3 separate regions of the Homo sapiens genome follow, and regions 2 and 3 are each linked to region 1. The links are contacts of gene promoters, found by promoter capture Hi-C in blood cells and fetal thymus (Javierre and others, 2016). All regions are on one chromosome and are shown on one strand. Each heading gives the region's core, a stretch centred on a gene start or on the middle of the fragment in contact. The rest is flanking DNA. Distances are from core to core; before and after follow the strand shown.

The links. The method cuts DNA at HindIII sites, captures the fragments that hold promoters and counts their contacts. A CHiCAGO score of 5 or more calls a contact.
Region 2: a fragment that was not itself captured here is called in contact with the fragment with the promoter of DACH1 in region 1 in 1 of 17 cell types (endothelial precursors); the score reaches 6.9 in endothelial precursors.
Region 3: a contact is called between a fragment that was not itself captured here and the fragment with the promoter of DACH1 in region 1, in 1 of 17 cell types (M0 macrophages). The highest score is 5.0, in M0 macrophages.

The regions. Positions count from the first base shown.
Region 1 is chr13:71,865,932-71,870,304 of GRCh38, reverse strand. DACH1 (dachshund family transcription factor 1) reads left to right here and starts at 3,101. Exons shown (of 11, transcript NM_080759.6): 1 at 3,101-4,373. The coding sequence starts at 3,536. The HindIII fragment of the contact is 4,223 bases long and covers 2,710-4,373 here.
Region 2 is chr13:71,481,359-71,485,549 of GRCh38, reverse strand. The region is part of intron 7 of DACH1 (dachshund family transcription factor 1); the gene reads left to right. Among named protein-coding and RNA genes, the nearest start is that of DACH1, 380 kb to the left of the region's middle. The HindIII fragment of the contact is 746 bases long and covers 2,428-3,173 here.
Region 3 is chr13:71,380,032-71,384,437 of GRCh38, reverse strand. No RefSeq gene overlaps it. Among named protein-coding and RNA genes, the nearest start is that of LINC00348, 370 kb to the right of the region's middle. The HindIII fragment of the contact is 653 bases long and covers 2,101-2,753 here.

The sequences.
Region 1 (4,373 bases), core at 1,852-4,351:
TGTTAAGTAACAGATAGCAAGACCTGAGACCACTCTCTCTGTTAGTTCCCATTCGTAGGGATCTCATTGTCGGGCGGGGGGTGGGGGGGGTTGTGGGGGAAGGGAGGACGGGAAAAAGGGAGGGGAGGGGCCAGAAGGGGGCAGAGGGAGGGAAGAAAATACCTTCCCTGAACTGGTACAAGCTAAGCTTCAAACGATATCCTAGGAAAGAAATTAAAGACTTCTTAATTAGTGCAGCAATTAAGCTTTCTTGGTAGCATTTTAATCAGCACAGGCCCTATCAAAGGACAAACAGAACGATTTGCAGGTCTTTGAATTTTAAACAGTCTTATTGATTTCAGCACAATACGTCTTCACAAAACACAGGGAGAATTTTCTAATATCAGTTACAGTACTTTGAGTTTTGCTTATGCAAATTGAGTGAAGGTTGGGGAAGATGAGATGGAGAGGACCTGAAACAAGCGGAGATGTAAAACAATAAACAAGCAAGACAAAAGCTCTAAAAGCTAAAGATGCAATGGAGTGAGAATTCAAAATCTCTAAGTTGATTTATCTGTTGTTGTTAAATAACTGTTTGCCTTACTCATTGGCAACATTTCTCAAAAAGAAAGAAAGAAAAAGAAAAAAAAAGGAAAGAAAAAAGAGATAAAACCTTCAAAATTTTCAAGGCTTTTATTTCCTACATATTTTAATTTGTGCTATATGCCTTTTCTAATCCTATTGTTTGATTGAAGGGGTAAGTGGTGGTTCCCTGAACTGATTTTGAGACCTGAGGTCAGGAGAAGGAAGGCTGGAGAGCTCTTATTCAGGTGGGGGCAAATGTCTCTCAGCCCTGCTTCTGAGTGGAGCACGTGCTCGGAGGCAAAGGTTTCCCTGCAGTAGAAAATTTGGAGTTTGCTTCGAAGCAAGGTGGGATTATGGCTTGGGCTGCTATCATTACCTCCTGTCTGTAGCTTCCGAATGTGTCAGGTATTGGGTGAGTGATAGTTTAAGGAAATGTAAAAAATGAGAATGGTAATGGCAGATGCTCGGCATTTAATTCCCATTCTTCCATTTGTGGGTCTAGAACTTAAAATAATGAGACTATAGTTTAGTCTTTTAAAACCATATCAAAATTTATTAAAGTTAGGCATAGAATTCGAAAATAAAATTAGCTTTTCAGGGCTTAATACTTTCTTCCTCCCCTCCCCTCATTATAATAGTAGTTTGGTATGTCTTAAAAAAGTAATATTTTCTAAAACATGCAAAAATACTTAAGGAAGTGTTTTGATGTATGTGATATATATTGAATTCCTACTTTTACCCATAACAAATTTGAAGACTGAAACATAAATAAAAATTATTTCTGAATGTATTACAATACATTGGTTAACCAGGCCAAACAACTGTTTAAACTTTAGTTGTCCTTGCAGAAGTTCATGGACTTTTCTGCAACAATCGATTTTCTGAATTCTTATCTCCCAGGAAAGCCTCCTGATTTAACTGCTATGTCCCAAAAATTTTAGTATAATCATACACTAATTAGTCCATAGTGTCATATTTCTATTTTTCGGTAGACAGTTCCTGCACTATTTGACACTGCGATTCACAGAGTTCAAAGGCTTAAAATGATATAGAGAAATGTGATCATTTCAACACCAGAATGGCAAAAATTTTATTATAAAATTTCCCAACCCTGTGAACCTGCTACTAACAGTTTATTTTAAAAATCTGTCAAATGCTAAAGCATTGCTTCATATCTTATGAACTTACTGAACATGTGTGGACCGGTTCAAAGGCTAACTAATTGAAGATACTTGGAGACATGAGCAGCAAATAGATTTGACCCATATTCAAATGATATGTTAGTCAAAAATCCTTGAATAAATACTTCAGTGCAACAAGTTAGAAAAGAAAAGAAAAGGAAAGAGGAAGGAAAGGAGGAATAGAGTCAGTCTAAACTCAGCCTCATGTTGTTTTAAGCACAGCTACCCAAGTCTTTACAAGTCAACTAGTGAGCTTTGTTTTTGTTCTTCCCATTATTTACAAAACATATATTTACTGACAAATTGAAAAGGACTTTCCAAAACTACAGCAGCACTTTTCAAACATGAAAAAAAAAAAAAAAAAACTATTGTGTTGTCCAAAAAACACATTAGCAATTGGCTTTGGGTCTTAAAGGACATGAGGATAGTTGGTTACTGTGTAAGACAGGTGAATTAATTATAGAGTTTTGGGTAAGAAAACCCTTTTTCCACTTTCTAAATCTTCAAGGATACCTTATCTCCTTGATAGCTCTAGGTTTAACAGGTATTTCTGACTGGCTTTTGGGGAGACAGTGAAGTTATTCTAAATCATCCACATCAAGGCAAGCATTTCTTTCCACAACCTATTAGGAAATATGGAATTGAATACAGAGCTTTCCATTATTCTTAAGCGATTTCGGACTGACTTTCTTCTCACCACTTGAAAACTGTCCTGGAATTTTCACTATCTTTATATAAATAAATAATTTAGTAGAGAAATAAACAATCAGATGCAAAAGAACATTACGCTTTGCTTACATGTGAATTTTCCTCAAAATAATTTCTGAATAATCGTGAAGTGGGGGCTGTGTTTTCGTTTCTAGCTCATTGCCAAAACGCGTGGAGATGGATCCTAAATCCTGGAAGGAGAGAGCTCGGCGCGCTCAGGCTCCTCTTTAAGTTGGCGGGCGATTGTTTAGAAGCTTTGGAAAAAATTACCAGTCCCCGCGGACGAAATGGAATGTGAGACATGCAATCTAACGGTAGTAGTAGAAGAGAAGTAGATGATCTCCCTCTCCTTTTCCGATCGCCACTTCTGTGTCCCCGGCTTTTCCTCTCCGTCCCTCCCACAGTTTCTTTCCGTATCCTCCCCCTCCCCTCCTCCTTTCCTCGCACGCTCCCTCTCCAGTGTCTCGCGCTCTCGGAGTCTCTGCTCCGAGTTCCTGGTTGGATAATTTGGGTTAATACTAGTGAGTGAGGTTTTTGCGGCTTCAAAGGGTATTTCAAGTTTCCGGAGCTCCTCCCCTCTGCACCGTGTGACAACAACAACTCGTCCAGCCGGCAGCCTGCACTTTTCAGCTCATTTTCTCTCTGTCATTCCCCTCTCAATCTTTGATCAATGTACTTGCCAGGGAGAGCCCAAGTCCTTCAAACCTCCTCCTTTTCACCTTCATCCTTAACTTTGTGCTAGAGCGAGACCCACACAACAACAGCCGACCCTCCCCGCCCCACCCCCACCCCCAAACCAGCCCTCGATCCCAGCCCCCGGAGAGGACTCGCATTTCGACTTGCGGGACACTTTTGTGCGTTCCTCTCCAGAGCGCCTCTCGTGCTCGCCCCTCTTGCGCTCGCTCTTTATTACCTTCACCTCCTTTTCTCCCCCTTCTCTCCCTTTCTCCTTCTCGTTCTCTCCCGGAGTTGTTGTTGCCCCCCTCGCTCCTTCTCCCCCCTTTTTTCCCCTTCCCCTCCCGGGGGTGTGTGGCAACTTTTCCTCTCGCTTCTCCTCCGTCTGTTTCCCCTTATATGTGACCATGGCAGTGCCGGCGGCTTTGATCCCTCCGACCCAGCTGGTCCCCCCTCAACCCCCAATCTCCACGTCTGCTTCCTCCTCTGGCACCACCACCTCCACCTCTTCGGCGACTTCGTCTCCGGCTCCTTCCATCGGACCCCCGGCGTCCTCTGGGCCAACTCTGTTCCGCCCGGAGCCCATCGCTTCGGCGGCGGCGGCGGCGGCCACAGTCACCTCTACCGGCGGCGGCGGCGGCGGCGGCGGCAGCGGAGGCGGCGGCGGCAGCAGCGGCAACGGAGGCGGCGGTGGCGGCGGCGGCGGTGGCAGCAACTGCAACCCCAACCTGGCGGCCGCGAGCAACGGCAGCGGCGGCGGCGGCGGCGGCATCAGCGCTGGCGGCGGCGTCGCTTCCAGCACCCCCATCAACGCCAGCACCGGCAGCAGCAGCAGCAGCAGTAGCAGCAGCAGCAGCAGCAGCAGTAGTAGCAGCAGCAGCAGTAGCAGCAGCAGCTGCGGCCCCCTCCCCGGGAAACCCGTGTACTCAACCCCGTCCCCAGTGGAAAACACCCCTCAGAATAATGAGTGCAAAATGGTGGATCTGAGGGGGGCCAAAGTGGCTTCCTTCACGGTGGAGGGCTGCGAGCTGATCTGCCTGCCCCAGGCTTTCGACCTGTTCCTGAAGCACTTGGTGGGGGGCTTGCATACGGTCTACACCAAGCTGAAGCGGCTGGAGATCACGCCGGTGGTGTGCAATGTGGAACAAGTTCGCATCCTGAGGGGACTGGGCGCCATCCAGCCAGGAGTGAACCGCTGCAAACTCATCTCCAGGAAGGACTTCGAGACCCTCTACAATGACTGCA
Region 2 (4,191 bases), core at 1,551-4,050, 380 kb after region 1:
AAGTAAAAAGAAAAAAAAAGACCTGTAAAAAAAATCCTATGTTGATATATAAAAAATTATATTTAAATTTTATATTTAGAAATTTATAAAATTTATATATATAAAAAATTGGGCACCAGATTTTTGTTACTGCTTGAGCTATACTACTTCCTGACATTTGAGTGTTTTAGAAATTAAAAGTGATAATGGATACAGATATCTAGAGTAAAAAACTAATTTAATTTAGTGAAGAATATGGATACAGTTCAGTTTTTGATTTTTAGAATTGCTTTTATTTTTTCTATATGGCATTTTTTTTTCATTGTGGTCTATCTTTCATTATGGCTTCCTCTTTCAATCCTGTCCATGGAGAACAACCTGTGAGATTTTATGTAAGGAGACTAAAATTTTAGTATCAGTTAACTGGATATGACACCGTCAAACATGAGCTACCATTAGAACATGATCAAAGGATAATTCTGCTTACTCTTTTTTCTTTTTTTTTTTTTAAATTTAAGACGGAGTCTCCCTCTGTCGCCCAGGCTGCAGTGCAGTGGCACCATCTGGGCTCACTGCAACTTCCGCCTCTCAAGTGATTCTCCTGCCTCAGCCTCCTGAGTAGCTGGGAGTAGCCTCCCACCACCAAACCTGGCAATTTTTAAAAAGCATTTTAGTAGAGATGCATTTCACCATGTTGGCCAGACTTGTCTCAAACTCCTGACCTTAACTAATCTACCCACCTCCCAAAGTGCTGGGGTTACAGGCGTGAGCCACCGCGCCCGGGCCTACTCACTTTTTAAAATCTAGAACCTTTTGGCACATAGGGTTGTGAACAAATTATTTACTTTGTTTATCTTGTTACAAAAAGGCTTTAAAAAGTGGCTTACAAACATTAAAATAAGAATAGTTAAATAACTAAAAAGTGAAAATGTAAAGTTTAAGTAGAGAATATAAAATTTAGTTAGGAGTGAGGTTAGCATTGAAGATATTTGCCATGAGGGGATATATGATTGGAGTTTGGTTCACTATAGTCTACCTACATGGAAGAATTAAGCAAACAAGAAAGACCTAAAACATATGTTAAAACCACAATAGCTTCAGCTTGGCTGGGTGCTGTGACTCATACCTGTAATCCCAGCACTTTGGGAGGCTGAGGCAATAAGACCACTTGAGGCCAGGAGTTTGAGACCAGCCTGAGAAACATAGGGAGACCCTGCCTCTACAAAAATACAAAAATTAGCTGGGCATGATGGGGCATGCCCACAGTCCCAGCTATTAATATTCATGAGGATGAGGCAGGAGGATGGTTTGATCCCAGGAGTTCAAGGCTACAGTAAGCTATGATGGCACCACTGCACTCCACCCTGGGTGACTGAGTGAGACCCTATCTTAAAAACACATACACACACAAGAAATGGCAGCTCCAGATTGATTCACTATAGCCTAGTAAATGGACATAATCCAACCATGGTATCTAGGAGGAATTATTCTCTACTTCTGTGTTTGTGGGAAGAAAATGAAAAAGAATTAAGTATAAGACTGAACTATAGTCATGCATCACTTAATGCTGGGGATACATTCTGAGAAATGAATCATTGGACAGTCTTAGAGTTGTGCAAACATCATAGAATGCACTTATACAAACCTAGAGGATATTGCCTAGTATATACCTGTCTATACAGTATACCCTATTGCTCCTAGGCTATGTACCTGTATAGCAGATTACTATATTGAATACTGTAGACAACTGTAACACAATAGCAAGTATTTGTGTGTCTAAACATAGAAAAGGTACAGTAAAAATATGATATTATAATCTTATGGGACCACCATCATATATGCTTGCGGACCAAAAAGTTGTTATGGAGGTGAATGACTGTACTCTGATTATCTATCTTCAGTTCTTTACATTTCAATATCATGGCCAATAATTTTACTTTACTTTTCAATATATTTTAAAATAAAATAATAGTTTCCTTATTTACATTAATATATAATTTTAATTATAATTTAATTATAAAATTATAATTATAAAAATTATTGTAATTATAATTTTATTATGTATTCATTTATATTATATTAATATATTATTTATTATAAGGTATTATTTGTTATTTATTATATTAATTTTTATATAAATATAATAATTTTAACTGTAACATTAAATTTAATCATAATTTAATTATTGATACATAATTTAATTATAATATATAATTATATATAATATTAATTAGGAGAAGACTTTGCATAAACCCCAACAAAATAGACGTTGAATTCAAAATATGGGGAAGCTAATATCAAATATATTGGCCCTACATTATATGTTTTTATTTTCAATCGTAATTATATATTATGAGTCTTCTCTTCTTTGTTCCTGTCATACATCGGCGTTGCAGGACAATAATCATAGCATTAAAGAGTATGGTATTATATTTTGTTACAAAAGCTTCTCTGAAAATGTGTCAGTTGGGCCGGGCGCCATGTCTCACGCTGTAATCCCAGCACTTTGGGATGCTGAGGTGGGTGGATCGCCTGAGGTAAGGGGTTTGAAATCATCCTGGCCAACATGACAAAACCCCGTCTCTACTAAAAATACAAAAAAATAAGCCGGGTATGGTGGCACATGCCTGTAATCCCAGCTACTTGGGAGGCTGAGGCAGGAGAATCGCTTGAACCTGGGAAGCAGAGGTTGCAGTGAGCCGAGATCGCGCCATTTGCACGCCAGCCTGGGCAACAAGATCGAAACTCCATCTCAAAAAAAAAAAAAAAAAAAAAAACTGTCAGTTGATACTGTACTATTGATTATTTGTTTGTTTTTTGGTCTACAAAAGTTCCTGATTCCAAGGGACATTATTCTTTTTCTCCCTGAAAAGAGACCAGGGAAACATTAAAAGAATAATAAAGAAGACTAAGTAGCTGGACAGTTCTGATCTAGGCACACTCAACTCAGTATTTGGGATTTTCAGTCAGTCTCTTGATTCTTCTGCATCTTGGTTTTCTCATCTTTAAAAGTATTTGGTTAGGATGGTGATTGCTAAAATCCTCTTCAACTAAGGTGTTTTAATTTCATTAGAAGCAACACATTATTGAGAACAAATTTTATCACATGAGTTTCAGTGACACTCGAGAAACCTTAGATATTGTCTGATTCTGAAATAAATTTATGTTAAATACAAACATGGATCAAGTAAGCTTCTCCTCCAGGATCTAGCTAGGTTATTAAGAAATGTTTCTTAGCAGTATTATTTGAAGTCTTCTTATATAGACAGATATTGTACTTTCTAAGCCGTATCAACTGTAGAAACATTGCTAGATACAGTACCCTTTAAAAAAAAAACTCAATCTCTAAAAAATGATGAAAATAATTTACAAATTAGATTATTTTAGAAAACAATGACATTTATGTAGTATAACAACCATTATGTCTCACTCAGAAAAAAAATTTGGGGTCAATCAACTATTGTCTCTCACCATTGCTGTGGCATAAACTTAAAATGTATTTCATTAGACTTGTCATTAACCGACTTCAGTATCCTAAGAACCATCCTCCCCTTGGAGAAAAAATCATGCTTTAAACCTTCTATCGTTTTTTGTCATTCACATTTTTGCCACAGCATTTTCTGGATATTGCATGTCCAAGTGAGATGCAGCATTTAACGTGACCGTTTGCACGTGATCAACCTGGAAATTTTACAGAAGTTACACAAATCTGAAAGTATTATTATCATTGATGGCTACAATGGTGTCCTAAAGATTTGTAGATGTTCTGAACACTACATCCTATTGCTTTTCCCAGCCCCCTGCTGCACTGAAATTTAATCCGTTTTCTGTATTTTTTGAAGCAGAGCTGTCACTGGCGGTAACATACTTTTGCATATGCATCAGTTTGGCTCTAGTACAGATTTTTGTTCACACTGGACTCCTACTGATATGCACTGATACAAAGTCTAAAAATTACATTTAATTTTATATAGCTTATAAGTAGTCCCAGAGAGTATTGGATCCTAAAAGCTAATATTTTTCAGACATAATCAGCAGGAATAGGTAATGTATTACCATTAGTCACATTAGCAGCAATTGTAACAAAAGGAAACAGTAAACATAAATGCTCTCAGCAACTTCATTCTTTACAACGAATATTAATATAAAATTACACAAATTAGAGTTGCAGTTTAACATTATTCAACATGTTTATTCATAATGATTGTTTCA
Region 3 (4,406 bases), core at 1,178-3,677, 490 kb after region 1:
CAGAGAAATGCAAATTAAAACCACAATGAGGTATCATCTCACAACTGTTAAAATGGCTATTATCAAAAAGATGGAAGATAATAAGTGTTGGCAAGGATTTGGAGAAAAGTGCCTCCTTGTAGAGCGTTGTTGAGACTGTAAATTAGTATAGCCATCATGGAATACAATGTGGAGGTTTCTCAAAAAGTTAAAAATAGAACTACCATATGATCCAGCAATCCTACTACTGGATATATATCTAAAGGAAATGAAAACAACATCTCAAAGAGATATCTGCTCTCCCATGTTTATTTCAGCATTATTCACAATAGCAAAATAGCCAAGATTTAGAATCAATCTAAGTGTCCATCAATGGATGAATGCATAAAGAAAATGTGGTATACATACACAATGAAATGCTATATTTAGGCCTTAAAAAAAAGGAAATTCTGTCATTTGTGACAACATGTTTGAATCGATGACATTATGTTAAGTGAAATAATCCAGGCAAGAAAGAGAAATACTGCATGATCTCATTCATATGTGGAATCCAAAAAAGTCAAACAAATAGAAGCAGAGTGGGATATGGTTTCCAGGGACTTGGGGAGGGAGTGATGGGATGAGTTTGAGAAGACATTGATCAAAGGATACAAAATTTTACTTAGATAGGACAAATAAGTTCATGGGTTCTGTTGCACAACAGGGTGACTACAGTTAATACCAATCAATGGAACTCATGAAAATTGCTTAAAGAGTAGGTTTTTATTGTTCTCGTCACAAAAAATTTAAAAATGCGGGAGACAATGCATATGTTAATTAACTCAATGTATTCATTTCAAAATGTACATATTTTAAAATATGTTGTACATGATAAATATATAATTTTATCTGTCAAGTAAAATAAATATATCAACAATTTCAAAAATGAATATTTGATATTTGAGATGGAGTCTATTCAAATTTAAAAATGCTCTTACTGTTAACTTTTTTAACCCCTTCTCAATTCCATCCACCTTATATAGAAAAAGGGGAGTCTAAAATTTTCCTCTCTGAGAAATTTATTAGCCCAAGATAACAGGCCTATCAAGGCAGATATTTGGAAGTCCCTTAAGGAAACAATGAAATCTCCACACACTTACTCCCTGGTAAGGTCTACCAGCCTACAGACTCCTACCATGCACACCTTTTGATGACTAATTTTTACATTGTAAATGTAACAACAGGTCATCATCAGTCACCTGATGCATAAGTTACAGAAAACTTCTATAAAAAAGAGACAAAAGTAAAGTAACAAAAAACCCCACAAAAATCAATTGCAGAAAACACAAACAAAATATTGAGTGAAATTATAATGTATATCCTCATCTAAATAAAGTCCAATACTCATCAATAAAATAGAAATAAGATGCTATAACATTTTAAAAACTAGAAAATAAAAAGCTTTTGGAAATAGAAAAGTAGTAAAATAAAATTTTCCACTGGTATTTTAGGAAAGAAAGTTGATACTTCTACTGGAAATTAGGAGAAAAGAACTAAAAAATGAGAAATCTGAAAGAAATGAAAAGATAATCAGAATATCAATACAGGAGGACTTATTGATTATTAGTAAGTGTTTAAGAATGATAATGAGAAATGCAAAGGAGGAAATTACCAAGAAAATTTTACAAAACAAAACCAAAGAAAAAACACTGAGTTATTTTGAATAATTGGACCCTAAAAAAAGATTTATACTAAGTTATAGACTCTTCAAATCTCAAAATATTAGAGCAAAGAATACAAATCTTTTAAAGAATTCTATATGTGTATATACACACACACTCTATTGTTGTTATTCATGAATTCCATACTTGCAAACTTGCCTAGTCACTAAAATTAATTTACAACTTCAAACCAATACTCGCTGTGCTTTCTTGTCTTTCATAGAAATGCACAAAGTAGAGAGAAATGTGAGTTGCCTAATAAATGTGCATGTTTCCAGCTGGATTGAACAAGGCGATATTCCGACTTCTTACAGCTCTCCTACTGTAAACAAATGTCCTTTTCATGTTCTATTTACTCATGTTTTTTCTCATTTTTGCACTTTTTGTTGGTAATTGTGCTGTTTAAAATGGCACTGAAGCTTTGTACCGACTGCTATAAAGTATTCCCAAGCAAGAGAAGTCTGTGATGTGCCTTAGGGAGAAAATACTTGTGCTAGATATGCTTCATTCGGTCAAGTTATAGTGCTTTTGGCAGTGACTTCGATGTTAATGAATCAACAACATATATTAAATGTTTTTAAACTGTAACACATATGAAACAAGATTATATATTTATCAGTTGATGAAATGTGAGAAAAAATAATTTTTTGTTTTCAGGTACTTAAATTTAATATCTCATTTAATTTAGGGGTGTTTCCTTACATAAAAAAACAGAACCATGAGTTTAAAAAGAAAAAAGAAGGACAAAGGTGCTCACATTTGTCAAAGTCGTATAACTGCATACTTAAAATGGTATATCTTATGGTACATAAATTATCCTTCAATAAGGTTGACTTAAAAAATAAGAATCTATTAACTCCAGGAAATATAGAATCTAGAATAGAACAAAAACAAAGCAAATTCCTAGAATAATGGCAAGTGGGAGTCTTAGCATGAAAGCCTGGCAGCAGGCCTAGAAAAATCTGATCGAATTCGGGAAATAAATTGCAGCTCTAGCAGAGATGTCTTTAAAAAATAAATAACTAAATAAACTGATACAATACCAGATATGTTTGATCACATATGAAAGAAGCTTACATACTGTTGTCTAGTTTTGAGATGCCTTAGTGATAAAAGGTTATCCGAGTAAATTAGAGAATTACTAATTCTGGGAAAGATAAAAAGAACACAAGAAAGCATACACAGTCATATTATGCCACATGGTACAATTATAGGTAGCACTTGTATAGATCAATAATAATGTTAATTTTACAAAAGGAGCAATATAAACTGAGTAAAAGGGCTAAAGGTATATTCGAACGTCTCGTTTGATGTAAGGTAGTTAAAAACGAGGTGAAAAGATAATATATAAGATTTTCAAAAGAAGACATCACAACATCAAAAACATATTATTTTGTAATGTGTAGCCAAACACTAAAATTAACTGCTTCAATGTTAATTCTGTTTCTTTTTTTTTTTTTTTCTTTTTTGAGACAGAGTCTGTCACCCAGGCTGGAATGCAGTGGCAGGAATGTGGCTCACTGCGGTCTCAAGGGATCCTCCTACCTCAAAGGATCCTCCTGCCTCAGCCTCCTGTGTAGCTGAGACCACAGGCATGGGGGTCACATTTGGTTGGCCCAGTGATCTTGAACTCCTGGGCTCAAGTGTTCCTTCTACCTCAGCTTCCCAAAGTGCTGGGATTACAGGCATGAGCCATTGTACCTGGCTAATTCTGTTTCTTAATAGGAAACAAGTTTGGGGAGGGATGGGGTTAGTTCTGGCATATACATATATACATATATAAATTTACAAGATAATGAAATATATAGACTCTTTTATAAGGATGCATATCTTATATTGATAAAAATTAAAATTTAATTTAAACATTAAAAATGTAAAATAATCAGTGGAAATTCAGTATTGGAAATTGAAAGACATATTCTAGAAAAAGATTTATTTGTAATTATAGCATTTATACTATTCACTATCCAAATTTAAATATCTAATACTATATCAGGATAATTTATGATAGTGCTTAGTTTTCTTGAATGTAATTAACAAAATGTAGTGACTGCTTATGTCAGTGAGTCTATTTCTTTATTAAATTTGAAGATTTTTCAAATCTTCACTTTGGCAAGTGAGTCATTCACTTACCAATTATTTTTTCTTCTTATATCACTTTTTGGCAATATTTACCCTATATGGTTTGGCTGTGTCCTCACCCAAGTCTCATCTTGAATTATAGCTCCCCAGATTCCCATGTGTTGTGAGAGGGACCCAGTGGAAGATAATTGAATGATGGGGGCAGTTCCCCCCGAACTGTTCTCATGGTAGTGAATAAGTTTCATGAGCTCTGTTGGTTTTTTAAGGGGAAACCCCTTTTGCCTGGTTCTCATTTCTCTCTTGCCTGACACCATGTAAGACGTGCTTTTTGCCTCTGACATGATAAGCACACAGAACTGTGAGTCCATTAAACCTATTTTACTTTATAAATTACCCAGTCTTGAGTATGTCTTTATCAGGTGTGTGAAAACCAACTAATACATAACCTTTCACTTTAGTCAAAAGAGATTCTAGATTTGTCTCTTTGTCCCTTCCCTCCTATGTGTTAAAAAATTATTGGAAATAATCTTCTTTTTCTGCTTTGTTCCTTGGGCTGCCTCTCCCTCCGGGCTTGTCAAGTCAATATTTTCCTTAAAGCTATTTCAGAACCAAGGAGCAATTGATACTACAGAGTTAAGCTCTTTA